Regions from separate parts of the Homo sapiens genome. Here all the other regions are linked to region 3. Evidence: promoter capture Hi-C in 16 types of primary human blood cells and fetal thymus (Javierre and others, 2016). All regions are on one chromosome and are shown on one strand. The core of a region is centred on a gene start or on the middle of the fragment in contact, and the rest is flanking DNA. Distances in the headings are between cores, read along the strand shown.

What was found. Contacts are between HindIII fragments. The CHiCAGO score rates a contact against its expected background, and 5 or more counts as called.
Region 1: a contact is called between a fragment that was not itself captured here and the fragment with the promoter of CPOX in region 3, in 3 of 17 cell types (neutrophils, fetal thymus and monocytes). The highest score is 12.2, in neutrophils.
Region 2: a fragment that was not itself captured here is called in contact with the fragment with the promoter of CPOX in region 3 in 1 of 17 cell types (megakaryocytes); the score reaches 5.3 in megakaryocytes.
Region 4: a contact is called between a fragment that was not itself captured here and the fragment with the promoter of CPOX in region 3, in 3 of 17 cell types (naive CD8 T cells, total CD8 T cells and activated CD4 T cells). The highest score is 5.6, in naive CD8 T cells.
Region 5: a fragment that was not itself captured here is called in contact with the fragment with the promoter of CPOX in region 3 in 1 of 17 cell types (fetal thymus); the score reaches 6.3 in fetal thymus.

Annotation. Positions count from the first base shown.
Region 1 is chr3:98,835,057-98,837,756 of GRCh38, forward strand. The region is part of intron 3 of DCBLD2 (discoidin, CUB and LCCL domain containing 2); the gene reads right to left. Among named protein-coding and RNA genes, the nearest start is that of DCBLD2, 65 kb to the right of the region's middle. The HindIII fragment of the contact is 7,617 bases long and covers 1-2,700 here.
Region 2 is chr3:98,766,366-98,769,122 of GRCh38, forward strand. ST3GAL6 (ST3 beta-galactoside alpha-2,3-sialyltransferase 6) reads left to right here. Exons shown (of 10, transcript NM_001323368.2): 2 at 2,065-2,164. The coding sequence starts at 2,076. Among named protein-coding and RNA genes, the nearest start is that of ST3GAL6, 4.4 kb to the left of the region's middle. The HindIII fragment of the contact is 3,601 bases long and covers 1-2,757 here.
Region 3 is chr3:98,592,290-98,594,989 of GRCh38, forward strand. CPOX (coproporphyrinogen oxidase) reads right to left here and starts at 1,322. Exons shown (of 7, transcript NM_000097.7): 1 at 660-1,322. The coding sequence starts at 1,215. RefSeq lists a silencer at 861-1,310 and an enhancer at 1,811-1,860. The HindIII fragment of the contact is 5,536 bases long and covers 362-2,700 here.
Region 4 is chr3:98,349,122-98,351,821 of GRCh38, forward strand. No RefSeq gene overlaps it. Among named protein-coding and RNA genes, the nearest start is that of OR5K4, 3.4 kb to the right of the region's middle. The HindIII fragment of the contact is 6,090 bases long and covers 1-2,700 here.
Region 5 is chr3:98,749,005-98,751,729 of GRCh38, forward strand. It overlaps a transcript of ST3GAL6 not described here. Among named protein-coding and RNA genes, the nearest start is that of ST3GAL6, 13 kb to the right of the region's middle. The HindIII fragment of the contact is 1,038 bases long and covers 916-1,953 here.

The DNA of each region.
Region 1 (2,700 bases), core at 198-2,697, 240 kb after region 3:
CTGCCTCCCAGGTTCAGGCGATTCTCCTGCCTCAGCCTCCCAGGTAGCTGGGATTACAGGCATGTGCCACCACACCTGGGTAATTTTGTATTTTTAGGAGAGATGGGGTTTCACCATGTTGGTCAGGCTGGTCTCGAACTCCTGAACTCAGATGATCTGTCCGCCTCAACTTCCCAAAGTGCTGGGATTACAGGCAGGAGCCACCGCGCCCGGCATACTCGCACATTCTTAAGTCCCTACTCTTTCCTGGCATTCCTCCCTTACCTAGAATGGGTTTCTCATCACCAAAAGCATCCTACCCACTGTTCAAGGTCAAATTCAAATGTCAACTCCTGGGTGTCCCCAGCCAGAAATGATTCCCTTCTCATTTGTTCTTCTAAGATAACTATTTTCTTGCCATTTAATTATTCTTCACTCAGTAAACATCTATTGAGCACCAAATATGTGCCAGGTTCACTTATCCATCCTCTCACTCCGTATGCTATTTTTTTTTCTTCTTTTTTTTTTTTTGAGACAGAGTTTCTTTTTTGTTGCCCAGCCTTGAGTGCAATGGTGCAATCTCGGCTCACTGCAACTTCTGCCTCCCGGATTCAAGCGATTCTCTCGTCTTAGCCTCCCGAGTAGCTGGGACTACAGGCACGTGCCACCATGCCTGGCTAATTTTTGTATTTTTAGTAGAGACAGGGTTTCACCATGTTGGCCAGGCTGGTCTCAAGCTCCTGACCTCAGGTGATTCACCTACCTTGGCCTCCCAAACTGCTGGGATTATAGCGTGAGCCACCACGCCTGGCCACTCCATATGCTACTATAATTATTTGGTGCTTATATGAGGGGAGGAGATGAATTTTTCTTTCTTTCTTTCTTTCTTCCTTCCTTTCTTTCTTTTTTTTTTTTTTTAAGATTTTTAAATTTTTGTTTATTCACATTGAGGAGAATCTAAATTCTTTTGAACTTATGTATAGATTTCACCATTTTATAGTAATAAATCAGTCCTCCTGTGTGTGTGTGTATGTGTGTGTGTATGTAAACCTCACCTTGCAATATTATTATTTTAAATAGCCACTTGCATCTTAAGGAAATTAAGAGGACAAAAGAAAAGCTGCTGTTTTGTATGTATCCACATATTTACCAGCTGCTTCCCTGCCGGCAGGTGCTCTGGTTCTGCACTGCCTGTTGTCCCTTGCCTGAAAATGGTTGCCTCCAATATTTTGCTCAGTTTTCTGATTGTTTACAGTGGCAGAGGAGGGTAGATCTGGTACCAGTTAGTAATTGCCAGAGGTGGAAGTCTGTGGATGAAATTTGTATAACATGGAACGTTAGTTCCACAGTTAATGCTACTCAATTGGAACCCATGGAAATTATTTTTTGGTGAAAAGGGCCCATGCGTTATGAAATTTGAGATCCAGAACAAAATGAAAAGTCTCTCATGTCTACTTCTTTCTACACAGACACCGCAACCATCCGATTTCTCAATCTTTTCCCCACCTTTCCCGCCTTTCTATTCCACAAAGCCGCCATTGTCATCCTGGCCCGTTCTCAATGAGCTGTTGGGCACACCTCCCAGACGGGGCGGCTGGCCGGGCAGAGGGGCTCCTCACTTCCCAGTAGGGGCGGCCGGGCAGAGGCGCCCATCACCTCCCGGACGGGGCGGCTGGCCGGGCGGGGGGGCTGACCCCCCCATCTCCCTCCCGGACGGGGTGGCTGGCCGGGCGGGGGGCCGACACCCCCACCTCCCTCCCGGACGGGGTGGCTGGCCGGGCAGGGGGCCGACCCCCCCACCTCCCTCCCGGACGGGGCGGCTGGCCGGGCGGGGGGCCGACACCCCCACCTCCCTCCCGGAGGGGGCGGCTGGCCGGGCGGGGGGCTGACCCCCCCACCTCCCTCCCGGACGGGGCGGCTGGCCGGGCAGAGGGGCTCCTCACTTCCCAGTAGGGGCGGCCGGGCAGAGGCGCCCCTCACCTCCCGGACGGGGCGGCTGGCCGGGCGGGGGGGCTGACCCCCCCCATCTCCCTCCCGGACGGGGCGGCTGGCCGGGCGGGGGGCCGACACCCCCACCTCCCTCCCAGACGGGGTGGCTGGCCGGGCAGGGGGCCGACCCCCCCACCTCCCTCCCGGACGGGGCGGCTGGCCGGGCGGGGGGCCGACACCCCCACCTCCCTCCCGGACGGGGTGGCTGGCCGGGCAGGGGGCCGACCCCCCCACCTCCCTCCCGGACGGGGCGGCTGGCCGGGCGGGGGGCCGACACCCCCACCTCCCTCCCGGACGGGGCGGCTGGCCGGGCAGAGGGGCTCCTCACTTCCCAGTAGGGGCGGCCGGGCAGAGGCGCCCCTCACCTCCCGGACGGGGTGGCTGGCCGGGCAGGGGGGCTGACACCCCCACCTCCCGGACGGGGCGGCTGGCCGGGCGGGGGGCTGACCCCCCCACCTCCCTCCCGGACGGGGCGGCTGGCCGGGCGGGGGGCCGACCCCCCCACCTCCCTCCCGGATGGGGCAGCTGGCCGGGCAGAGGGGCTCCTCACTTCCCAGTAGGGGCGGCCGGGCAGAGGCGCCCCTCACCTCCCAGACGGGGCGGCTGGCCGGGCGGAGGGCTGACCCCCCCACCTCCCTCCCGGACGGGGCGGCTGGCCGGGCGGGGGGCTGACCCCCCCACCTCCCTCCCGGACGGGGCGGCTGGCCGGGCAGAGGGGCTCCTCACTTCCCA
Region 2 (2,757 bases), core at 112-2,611, 170 kb after region 3:
TAAGTTTTATCCTTGTTGGATCTTTGCATAAATGTCATTCTTTTTTTTTTTTTTTTTTTTTTTTTTTTTTTTGGGAAAGGGAGTCTCACTCTGTCGCCCAGGCTGGAGTGCAGTGGCGTGATCTCGGCTCACTGCAACCTCTGCCTCTTGGGTTCAAGCAATTCTCTGCCTTAGCCTCCTGAATGGGTGGGATTGCAGGTGCCTGCCATCACGCCCGGCTAATTTTTTTGCATTTTTAGTAGAGACGGTGTTTCACCATCTTGGCCAGGTTGGTATTGAACTCCTGACCTCGTGATCCACCTGCCTCAGCCTCCCAAAGTGCTGGGATTACAGGCATGAGCCACTGCGCCCAGCCAAATGAAGTTATTCTTAGTGGAGCCTTAAATGTTTGATTTGAGCATTTAATAAGATGTTCCTCACTATTTTGGCCCATGGTAAACTGCCTTCCAGGACCATCTAATAACCCAAAGAGGTAGATGGTGTGTTCTCACTTGTAAACACATGAGGACCCTCAGGTCAGAAGAGGTAGACTGATTTACCTTAGGGTCCCCACACCATATGTAGAGTTAGGCTGTGAATCTTGTCTTCTGATTTCCAACCAGTGTTGACTCTTCACAGGGATTATGTATACCTAATTAGAAGTATGTGTGAACTAAAGTTTGCTCATTAACTTGCTTATTTATTTGCTTTCTCCTGACATAGTTTTCATTTCTAACTAATTTAGAATAGTGGCATGTGGGGGTGGTGACTGCATTAATAGCAGCAAGAACCAACAGCTGACAGCAAGGGAGGAGTGAAAAGCAACTCAACCAGATAATCATGCCAGTTTAGGACTGCTTAGCAAATAGCCCCACACACCCATTAGCTGCAGAGGGTTTCAACTGTAAGAAAGCCCAGAACAATTATATTTGTTGAGCTGACCCCATATTATCAAGAAAAGTTTAAATTATGTTTAGTATATTCTACTTATGAAGGCAAAGGGAGTGGTTTATTTTAAGATTTCCATTTGAACATATTTACCATTAAAAAGAAGGCAATGCCATATTATTTGGAAATTTATTCAACCAGACTCCCAGGTTCTATACTGCATCGCCATGATTGAGGTTAATAGGCATGGATAGGAGTGAAAGGAGTGGCACATGCAGTTGTTTAGACGAACTAGAAACTTGATAAGGGAGACAGAGAAGCAGTGTACCTGTTTAAAGTCACAGGCGTTGAAATAGGTCTATTATGGAACCATATGTTAAATTTGTCTTTTACATTTAATTACATAAGACAATGGAAACTTTTCCTTTTTTCCTTTGAAGCAAAAGAGAAAACCAAACATGTTTTATAGGTTTTTAAAATATATTCTATAAAGGCTTTTTTTGCATTTACATTTTAGAGAGGATTGTGTCAAGGTTTTTGTCTGTCTGCAAATGTGTAATGAATAATATTGTCAATTTAATACAAAACAAGCAAGTAGCTGAATATACCTGAACTGTGATGTGGAAAAATCAAATAGGTGGATCTAAAAGTATATAAAAATTGAGGATGAGGGAAATGTTTTTTCAGTAGCTTTTTTCCTCAGTTAAAAATTAGAAAATGACTTGTAAAAATTATAATGTATAACATTTTAACATCATTTCAAGCACTGAAGAAATGAAATATTCACAGTTTAAGGCATCTATTCACTTTCTACTGAGAGAGAAAATAGATAGGTTTTAATGTTTGTGAAAAAAGTTTTGGATATGGAATAGATGTGTAAAATTTTATTCTGAAGGAATTATTTCTTTCTTACCTACCATGAGAAAGTAGTAGGGGGAGGCCCCTACCTTTGAGACCGTGGAACTGTTTATTGGCCTAAACATACATTATGTTGTGCTTATTGATAAAAGGAGAGACAGAAAAAACATTATCTTTCTGCACGTTTAGTGAGTATTTCCAAAATTACATGCCCACATCATTTTTTTCTATAGTTCCTTTTGTATATTTTTTCCAATAATGCTTATATTTGAGCCATTGTGAAAATCCATTTGTATAACAACCTGGCCTTTGCTTTGGACTTCATTCCTTGTGTTTCAGGTGAGCCAGCCATGAGAGGGTATCTTGTGGCCATATTCCTGAGTGCTGTCTTCCTCTATTATGTACTGCATTGCATATTATGGGGAACGAATGTCTATTGGTAAGTTTCATTTTGTTATTTAAAAATAACTCTCAACCTAGTCTTTCACACAAATCCACAAATTATAGTAGAGGGTCCTATGAAAAAAACTTGTACCATTTTGAATATTTTCTTGCTTTCCATTGTAAATTGGGGTTTTACCATTCCAGTATCCTATAGATTGTATCTCGAACAATTTAAAAGTTGACAAGCAACACCTACTTTCTATTGACTTCCCAGGGAAGCCATGGTGTTAACCATCTTTGGGTTATAACATTCTTTCTTTATGCTATAGATCATCTCCTTGAGTTAATGGCGTAATTACTGGGCTCAGTGGTACTTTTGGAACCTAAAATGCTTGCTTAAGAGATTATTGATAAAATACAGATATTACATATGGTTTCCTTTGTTTAAATATATTTGGTGAACGATGATATATGTATCTTCTGAAATAGCTTTGACTTGAAATACCACATATAAAACTTTGAAGAGGCACAGATAGTTTTACTGAAGAGAAAGCCTCTGTAATAGGGATTTTAACCTTCTCATTGTCAGTCCTTTGGCTAGGAAAAAAGTTTTGATGACCTTTAAATCCCAAGCGGGTGGCAGTACAT
Region 3 (2,700 bases), core at 72-2,571:
GGGTTTCACTGTATGGGCAACAACATGGTCATGAATGTACGCCTCTACGAGAACTGGGTTTTGATGCTCAAGTATTTTGATATTGGAAGAGAAGATTTTCCTAGCAGGAAATCTGATGCGTGCATTTGGTAGTGCTACTGAGAAACGAATCAAATATATCTTGTGTAACAGTAAAAAGAAGTGGGAAGATTCTGACACAATGACATCCTGGCTGGAGGAGTTTAGCCGACACTTAGCGCACAGGAGATGAGTTCTTTCCATCTCCTAAAGAGGAAAAAGGGCAAATTCACCCAGAGAAGGAGAGAAAATGTGTTCCATAATCTATTGAAATTTATGTTCAGTAACGAACTTTGGACATCTAAGCTTGTTAGCTGCAAATACCCCTTAAGAGTTCTACAAAAAAATGCTGCTACGGAATTGCAAAGATTTTGAAATGCAGTACTACAGTGACAGCTGATCCGGGTCCATACCTGCAAGCAGAGGGCTAGTGACCCTTTCGTGTCCATCTTTTTATCAGCGGCCTCTAACCAAGCGGCCTCTCTGTGGGTACCCCCTACCTACCCCATCCCATATTGTGAACTATTATATTTTCTGTCTGCAACCTGGAACCTGACCCTTTTTCCCTGTCTCCAACTCCCGCCAGGGGCCGGCCTCCTTACCTTCCTTCCTCTCCCACCGGTCCACAGAAAAGTTGGCGCCCCCGTCTACCTGTGCCAGAGCCTGGCACACCTGGGCCTGGGTCTCCAGAATCAGCAGCTCCATCTTGGTCTTCATGTCGCCCGGCCTCCTTCGCAGCTCGCCCAGGTCGGTCACAGGCGGGGCCATGAAGCTGCTGCAGCGGTGGGCCAGCTCATCCTCCTCCTCCTCCGGCCTCCCCAGCGAAGTGGCCCGCGTCCCCGAGGTCTTAGGCAACATCTCCGCCCGCTGCACATGCCCGAAGGCGGCGGTGGCCAGCCCCACCAACCCCGCCAGCGCCGCGGCCAGCCCTGTCCCCACCCAGGGGCCGCCTCTCGACGTCGAGCCGTGCCCCAGCCCGCGGCTCTGCTCCGTGCCAGCCGGGCCAGGGGGCCGGCAGACGCGTCCGGCTGCGCTGCGCTGGGACCAGGCTCGGAGCCCTCCGCCGCCGCACTGGGACCAGGCGCGGGGCCCTCCGCAGCCGCCCCGCGCCACGAGCCAGCAGGGGCCCGAGCTCAGCCTGCCCAGCTGCAAGGCCATGTTCCCGCACTATCACCTGGAGCAGTGCCTGCGTCCCAGAGCCCTGCGTTTGAGCCCCCCACCCAGACCCCCGGAGTATTGAGCCGGCGAGCTGCACAGGCGGAAAGAACCTTTCGAGAAGAGCCGCTGCAGCGTCGGGCTCCGGAGGCGGGGGCGGGAACTGGGGCGCGCTGGGAGCTGTAGTCCGGATCCTATCGCCGCCTGCGGCGTCCCTGCGCGGGGCGGGAGATAAGAATCCGACGCGCCCAGAAGGGCTGGTCCGAAGGGAAGAGAGTGGGGCGGGGACGGTGCTGTGGAAGGGACGGGAGAGATAAAAGAGGCTTTCTTGTCACGTACAACCTCGGGTCGGCTGTTTACTCAGCCAAGGAGAGAAGATAGAGTAGGGCTGGGAGGCTGAGGGCGGACTGGGGCGGAAATGTGGCAGAGATCCCAGTCCCGCTTACATTTTCAAACAGGATTTGCGAATACAGAGCCTGGCTCAGGATCTGTATAGACCCGCCCTTCGCCCTGGGTCCTGGTCCTCTAGAGTTTTTAGAGGGGATGGGCAGGCTGGGAAACTCTTTGCTGAAGGATGGTTTTCTAAAGAGAGTGGGAGAAGCTAGTAATGGACTCGGAAGAGAGTCGAGGAGAAGACTTTCTGTGATCGAGTCCACATCACAGTTCTGTCCTTAAGATTTCCCCAGGCTGGGGCCGGGCGCGGTGGCTCAAGCCTGTAATGCTAGCATTTTGGAAAGCCGAGGCGGTTGGATCACATGAGGTCAGGAGTTCGAGACCAGCCAACATGGTGAAACCCTGTCTCTACTAAAACTACAAAAAAATAGCCGGGCGTGGCGGCGTGCACCTGTAGGCTCAGCTACTCGGGAGGCTGAGGCAGGAGAATCGCTTGAACCCGGGAGGCAGAGGTTGTAGTGAGCCGAGATCGCACCACTGCACTCCAGCCTGGGTGACAGAGTGAGACTCTGTCTCAGAAAAAAAAAAAAAAAAAAAAGGTTTCCCCAGGCCTTGCTTCTATAGTGCCTACTTGATTATTTTAGAAAAAGGAAAAGCAACGTGACTGTTTTGGTTAACCAGTAGAAAATTCCTGACTTGGTGTGTTTTGGTGATTAACAAATAAGAATTTAAAAAATAGTTATTCTACTACTGTAGGGTGCTCCCAAATATTGCTCACGTTTAATACTTACAACAACTGCTACAAACTAGGCAAGGCAAATATCCACACTTCCTCCTACTCTGTCTCCCTTCCCCCACCCTTTAAAGAAATGAGGAAAGAAGCTAATAGATTTGACAGGCAGGTCTTTGTCTCCCCTGTAACCATACCACAGCTCCATGGTTCCTGGACGTAAAAGTGTGAGAACTATTGTCATGGGCTAATTTGTCCCATAAGTCTCCGGGATGATTTTAATTTCTAGTAGTAGATAATAATTTAAGCCACTGGTAGCTTTTCCCACAAGTGTTTTCTTTGTGGCAGGATGCACTGATGGAACT
Region 4 (2,700 bases), core at 189-2,688, 240 kb before region 3:
TTCTCTGATGATAAGTAGCTACTCAACAAATATTTTTAAATGATTAAAACCTTTATTTTGTCCTTTGATGTCAGTATGATATTTAACTAAGTGAACTGTAACTACTATCAATATGAAATTGTGCAACACAGATAAAATCTTGAAACATGTTTAGTATGTTTTTCTATATCCTCATATAATACTCTGGGCAAAAATTATCTGATAACATACTAAAAACTCTCATGTTTGCTTATTTTTTAAAAAATTTGGAAACACAATGTTTCCACCTTCATAAAAATATTCCACATATTTTAAGAGAAATTTGAACTTGTTTTTCAAATTTAAAAATTTTTAATTTGCTTACACTTTTTAATTTTCTTACAAAACAACTGATTGACATCAGAGAGTATGGTGATTTACTGGCTAAATATCAGGCAAGCCTTTTCTAAATTAGTGTCTAGTATTTAAAACAAAGTGCCATAATTTTGTAAAAGTACCCAAGGTTGTACTTTTATTTTAAGGAATTTGTGCGTGTGAGGAAAGGAAGAAAAGAGGATCTAAGAGAAAACATGGAGAAAGAACAGCCCGAGATGTAGCAATAAACAAGCATTAAATCACAGAAGCCTGAGAAGCAAATATGCTTCAGAGTGTGGTCAATGGTGCCAAATCATAAAATTAATTAGTTAAGATAATAATTTAAAAAAATGCTTTAGGTGTGGTAATTAGGAGTTGAGTAGTGATCTTAGTGAGAGAGTGGCGATGAGAACCTCCAACTCCTTCCTGTCATGAGCCCAGACTCTGGCTACTCTGGTTCACTCTCCATTCACTGAATATGCTTTGTGCTTTCAAGTTTCCATGCTTTTACTTCTAATCATGCCGCTCCTTCAACCTGTAATTCTTTGCTACACATTCTTCTTGCCTATTGAAATTTAATTTATCCTTCAAGAATCATGAGAAATGTCATTTTGTATAATGTCTTCTCTTAGTTCTCTAAGTCCTTCTTTGTGTTCTCATATACCTTGCTTATAGTTCAGTTTGTAATACTTAACTCAGCCTGAGTTTCTATATTATATCATTGTATAAGTGATTTTATCCTCTAGATTGGGAGCTCTCTAAGGGCAGGATTATTTCTTATTTATCTATTCAGGTTCCTGCCCTAACTCACTCCTACCACATACCCCTCCTTGCGCAATGTCTTACTCCATGACTTCTCTATTGTAGTCACTCTATAATGTTGAAGTTAATTTAATTGAAATTTCTGCAAGCAATTCAATAAGCATTCACCGACGGCCTACATTTTCTGGAACTATGAGGGATTTGCAGTGTGGAAAACCAAAAAGAAAATCAATCTAAGAATAAACAAAACTTGCACATGAAGAACAGCTGAATGAACACAGGAGTGAAGTACAATTAAGAGCTCTTTGCATCACACAAACAGTCATTATCTTGCAGATCAGAAAGTTGAGGATGTCTTCATAATGAGAATCAGATCTCATAAAAATTGAGTAAGATTTGGATAGAAGAATAAATCAAAGAGGGCATTTCATGTGAAGAGTAGATTCTGAGTAAATATTCTGAGGTCAAGGTTAAACTCTAACACATCAAGGAATAGATAAGTTATAGGCGTGTCTCTGGAGATGGATTCTTAAAGGTGAATGGTAGAAAATAGCCTTAAGTGATATAAGCCCTCTGTATGGAGCCCTTGGAGTACCAAGATAAAGGACAAAACTTGGTTTGAAGACTAATGAGAAGCCAAAAATATTTCTAATGCATAAGAGCATATCTACACACTAGAGAAAAGATGGGGATAGGAGACCAATTAACAAGTAAGTTATCTTATGATGATGGCATTGATTATGGTAATAGTTTTGTGGGTGTATACTTATGTCCCAATTTATCAAGTTGTATACATTATATGTGTATAGCTTTTTGCACATAAATCATACCTCAATTAAGTTTTTTAAAGTTACCTTATGACAAATAAGTGAAACTGAAGAACATAATGTCAGACTTACTTCAGAGGATGAATGTACAAGATTTGACCAGATTAATTTGGGGAGCAAAAGAAAGGAATACAACCCTGGGTGATCCTGCCACATTTTTGCCTCTTGTCCACAAATACAAATCTCTCTTCAAATCTCTGTTTAACTTCCACCTCAACTGATCAATGTAAATCTTTTTCTCTCCATCATAGTTTTCAGGTAATCAAGGGGTGTGTGTGTGTGTGTGTGTGTGTGTGTGTGTGTGTGTCTGTGTGTAAGAGAAAGAGAGAGTTTCCAAGTATGTGAAAAATCAAGATGAACCTTAAGCTGTTTTTAGTGATAGCAATTTTGATTTAACTTCCGAATCTCAAAATGCATCCATCTTTATATGCTGTTTGATTTACTGGTGCTGGGGGAACCATGCTCATCAGATTAGAGTCTCTGCAGAAACACTCTGATGCCAATGCCGAGGAAGTCCCTTTAGAATAGAAAACTTTAACTTTGCCTGAGACTTGCATAACTATTGTCACTAACCTATTGGTAGGGAGTGTCCTAGATTTTTATAATTTATTCCCTAATGATTTAAAAACCAATGTTTTTATTCTTAATTTCCCTACAAAGAAAAAACATCAGGAGACCAGTCAGCTACTATAAAATGTTTCTCAGTGAACTCAAAATATGAGGACTTAATTTTATTTACTAATTTATTTATATTATAGTATCAAAATGCAGAATATAA
Region 5 (2,725 bases), core at 185-2,684, 160 kb after region 3:
AACTACTTGTTAATTTCTGCCTTTCTTGATGAACTGTAAACTGTTTTTCTTCTTCGCTGCTGTATCTCCAAAGCCTAAAACAGTGTCCAGCACAGAGTAGTCAGTGAGAAATTCTTTATTGAAGAAATCAACAAAGTTACCCTAGAAAGTGAAAACATTCAGAGTTAAATTTAGCAAGAAATGATTTTGAAATTCACTTTGCCTTAAGGATCAATCCACTGGTTTTAGGAAATAAATCTAGGATTGTTTCATTTCATAAAAAAATCTATCATATGTATTGATTTATTTGTAATAATAAATTATAAGTTGCCCTAAATTAAGATTCACCTCATATTTGTAACTTAGCTCTAGGAAATCATCTGATTGATAGTGGTATATGTGTTGTCACATTTTCATTTGCTGTGGAGAGCAGGACAGTTTCAACACGGGAATTTTAAGGTTTGGTATATGCTCATCTGATTGTTCACCCTTAAGCTAACTCATTTCTTTCTTTTAAAAATAGCAGAAAAGGTAAGGGAAAAAAATCAGATTGGAGAGGATATTTCCTAAGGGCCAGAATAATCCAGGCTTATTCAGAATAAATTGGCATAATAAGTATTTGAAAACAGAACTTTCAAATATCAGATGAAATGTTATTTATAACTTTTAAGCAAACTAAAACAGTAAACTCTTTGGAAGGGGGACTTTTAGAATCAGGAAAGACAGAAACTTGTTCCCCCTTAGTTGTAGTTTTATTTACCCTGGGAGAAAAACATAAGAATGCTTTCAAGTGTAAGGAAGGGCTGTGTATTCAGATATCAGCATACTGCTCCAAGAAAGACATCAGAGAGTTTTGAACTGATTGAAAGCCCAAATCTATTGGATCAGTTGAGGAGCAGAGCAAAATATGACCAAGCAATAAACGAGTACCTTCAAAGCTTTTAAGAAATTCTTATAGTTTGTATAGGTGGTTGGGAGGTGAAATTCCAGGGCTAGGAATATAATGTAAAGCCCTACAATGAAAAAGAAGACTGCAAATTGTGGCCTTAGGGGACTTTCCCTGCCCCGTTCAGAGACACATGATTTTTTTTTAACAGAAATCCCTGGAAAAATTACTTTAGAGCCATGTTTTCTTGCATTCTGCATTTTCATTAATGGTAGTATACTGAAATCACAAATTCATTCATTCTTTTCTTCATCAGAGCACATTTACTTAGTTTTAAGTACTTTCCAAGCTCAGAATAAGGTCACCATTCTTCTATGGAAGTGAAACATCTCTTCTTTAGAATTGTGCAAAATTAATTACTGGTTGGGGTATGACCTTGGGGGTATAGGATATAACATGTTTTTGGACATTTGAATGTGTGGACTCACAAAACTCTGCTAATAACCACTTAACCTATTTATTAATCATCTGCCTCAAAATCAGGGCTGAAGACTTTTGAAATAATGTAGTTAGAAGACTCTGTACAGTGACCATACTTTGGGAAACCCTGGTTTAAGTAACATTCGAATGTTCCTGTTCACCCTAAATTCTTGCCACTCAAAGCAGGGGCTTCAGACTAGCAGCACTGGCATTCTTTTTTTTTTTTTTGCATGATTTGGGAGCTTGCTGGAAATGCAGATAACCAGGCCCTGCCCTAGACATGCTGAATCAGAATGAGCAACTTAACAGGATGCTCAGGTGATGCCAATGGCTATTAAAGTTTGTTAAGCACTGCTCTGCCCACTCCTGCCAAATGGACTTTAGAACATACTAGTAATGTGTGACCCACTTTCCAAGAATGCATCCTGTATTAGGCAGTCCAAATATTAGCAAGGTCTTCCTAGTACTGAGCTCAAACTTAACTCCTTGAATTTTGCATTCACTGGCCTTGGCATAACTGCTTGGTAGCCATCAGAACCAAGTAAAATCCTCTTCATGAAGGACCTTCAAGCCTGTGACTAGGCTGTCTTGTTTCCTTCCTTGATTTAAGCTTCCCCAGGTGTAACTAAATCCCTGTTTCCCCCAGTATGACAGTGCTTGAGGTTTCTTTACCAACTTATCCAGACTAAATAATCTTTTTTTTTTTTTTTGAGATGGAGTCTCGCTCTGTTGCCCAGGCTGAAATTCAGTGACATGATCTTGGCTCACTGGAGCCTCTGCCTCCCAGGTTCAAGGAATTCTCCCTGCCTCAGCCTCCCGAGTAGTTGGGATTACAGGTGTGAGCCACTGCGCTCGTCCCAGACTGAATAATCTTAAAGGACCCTTCCAACTTTAAAATTGTGATGGATTCTTTAGTAATAAGTAATAGTGGATAGAAGATGATGGAAACTCAGGAACTATACTTTCTATACATTTAAGGAGAGAATAATCCTGAGGCACAAATATATCATGATCCATAATTTCTTTAGGTTCAAAATTCTGTCTCATGGTGAAGACTTCTCTAATAGTAGGCATTAAACAGCACTCCTTTGCTTTTCTCTTGATTTCTAAATGGGTTTGCTACTTAACACTTCAAAAGTGAAATGTATATAGAGATATATGAAAATAAGCACTTTCAGTTTCTTTGAAAATTGAAACATTTATGTACTTAAAAAAATTCTCTGTAATCTACAATTCAGCACATCAGCTGATTTTGTTTTTCTTTAATGCCTTTCAGTACAGTACATTCTCATTTAATGTCATTAATAGGTTTTTGGAAACTACAACCTTAAGCAAAACATTTTTGTTCATTGTCATTTTATTATTGATGAAAAAAATTGG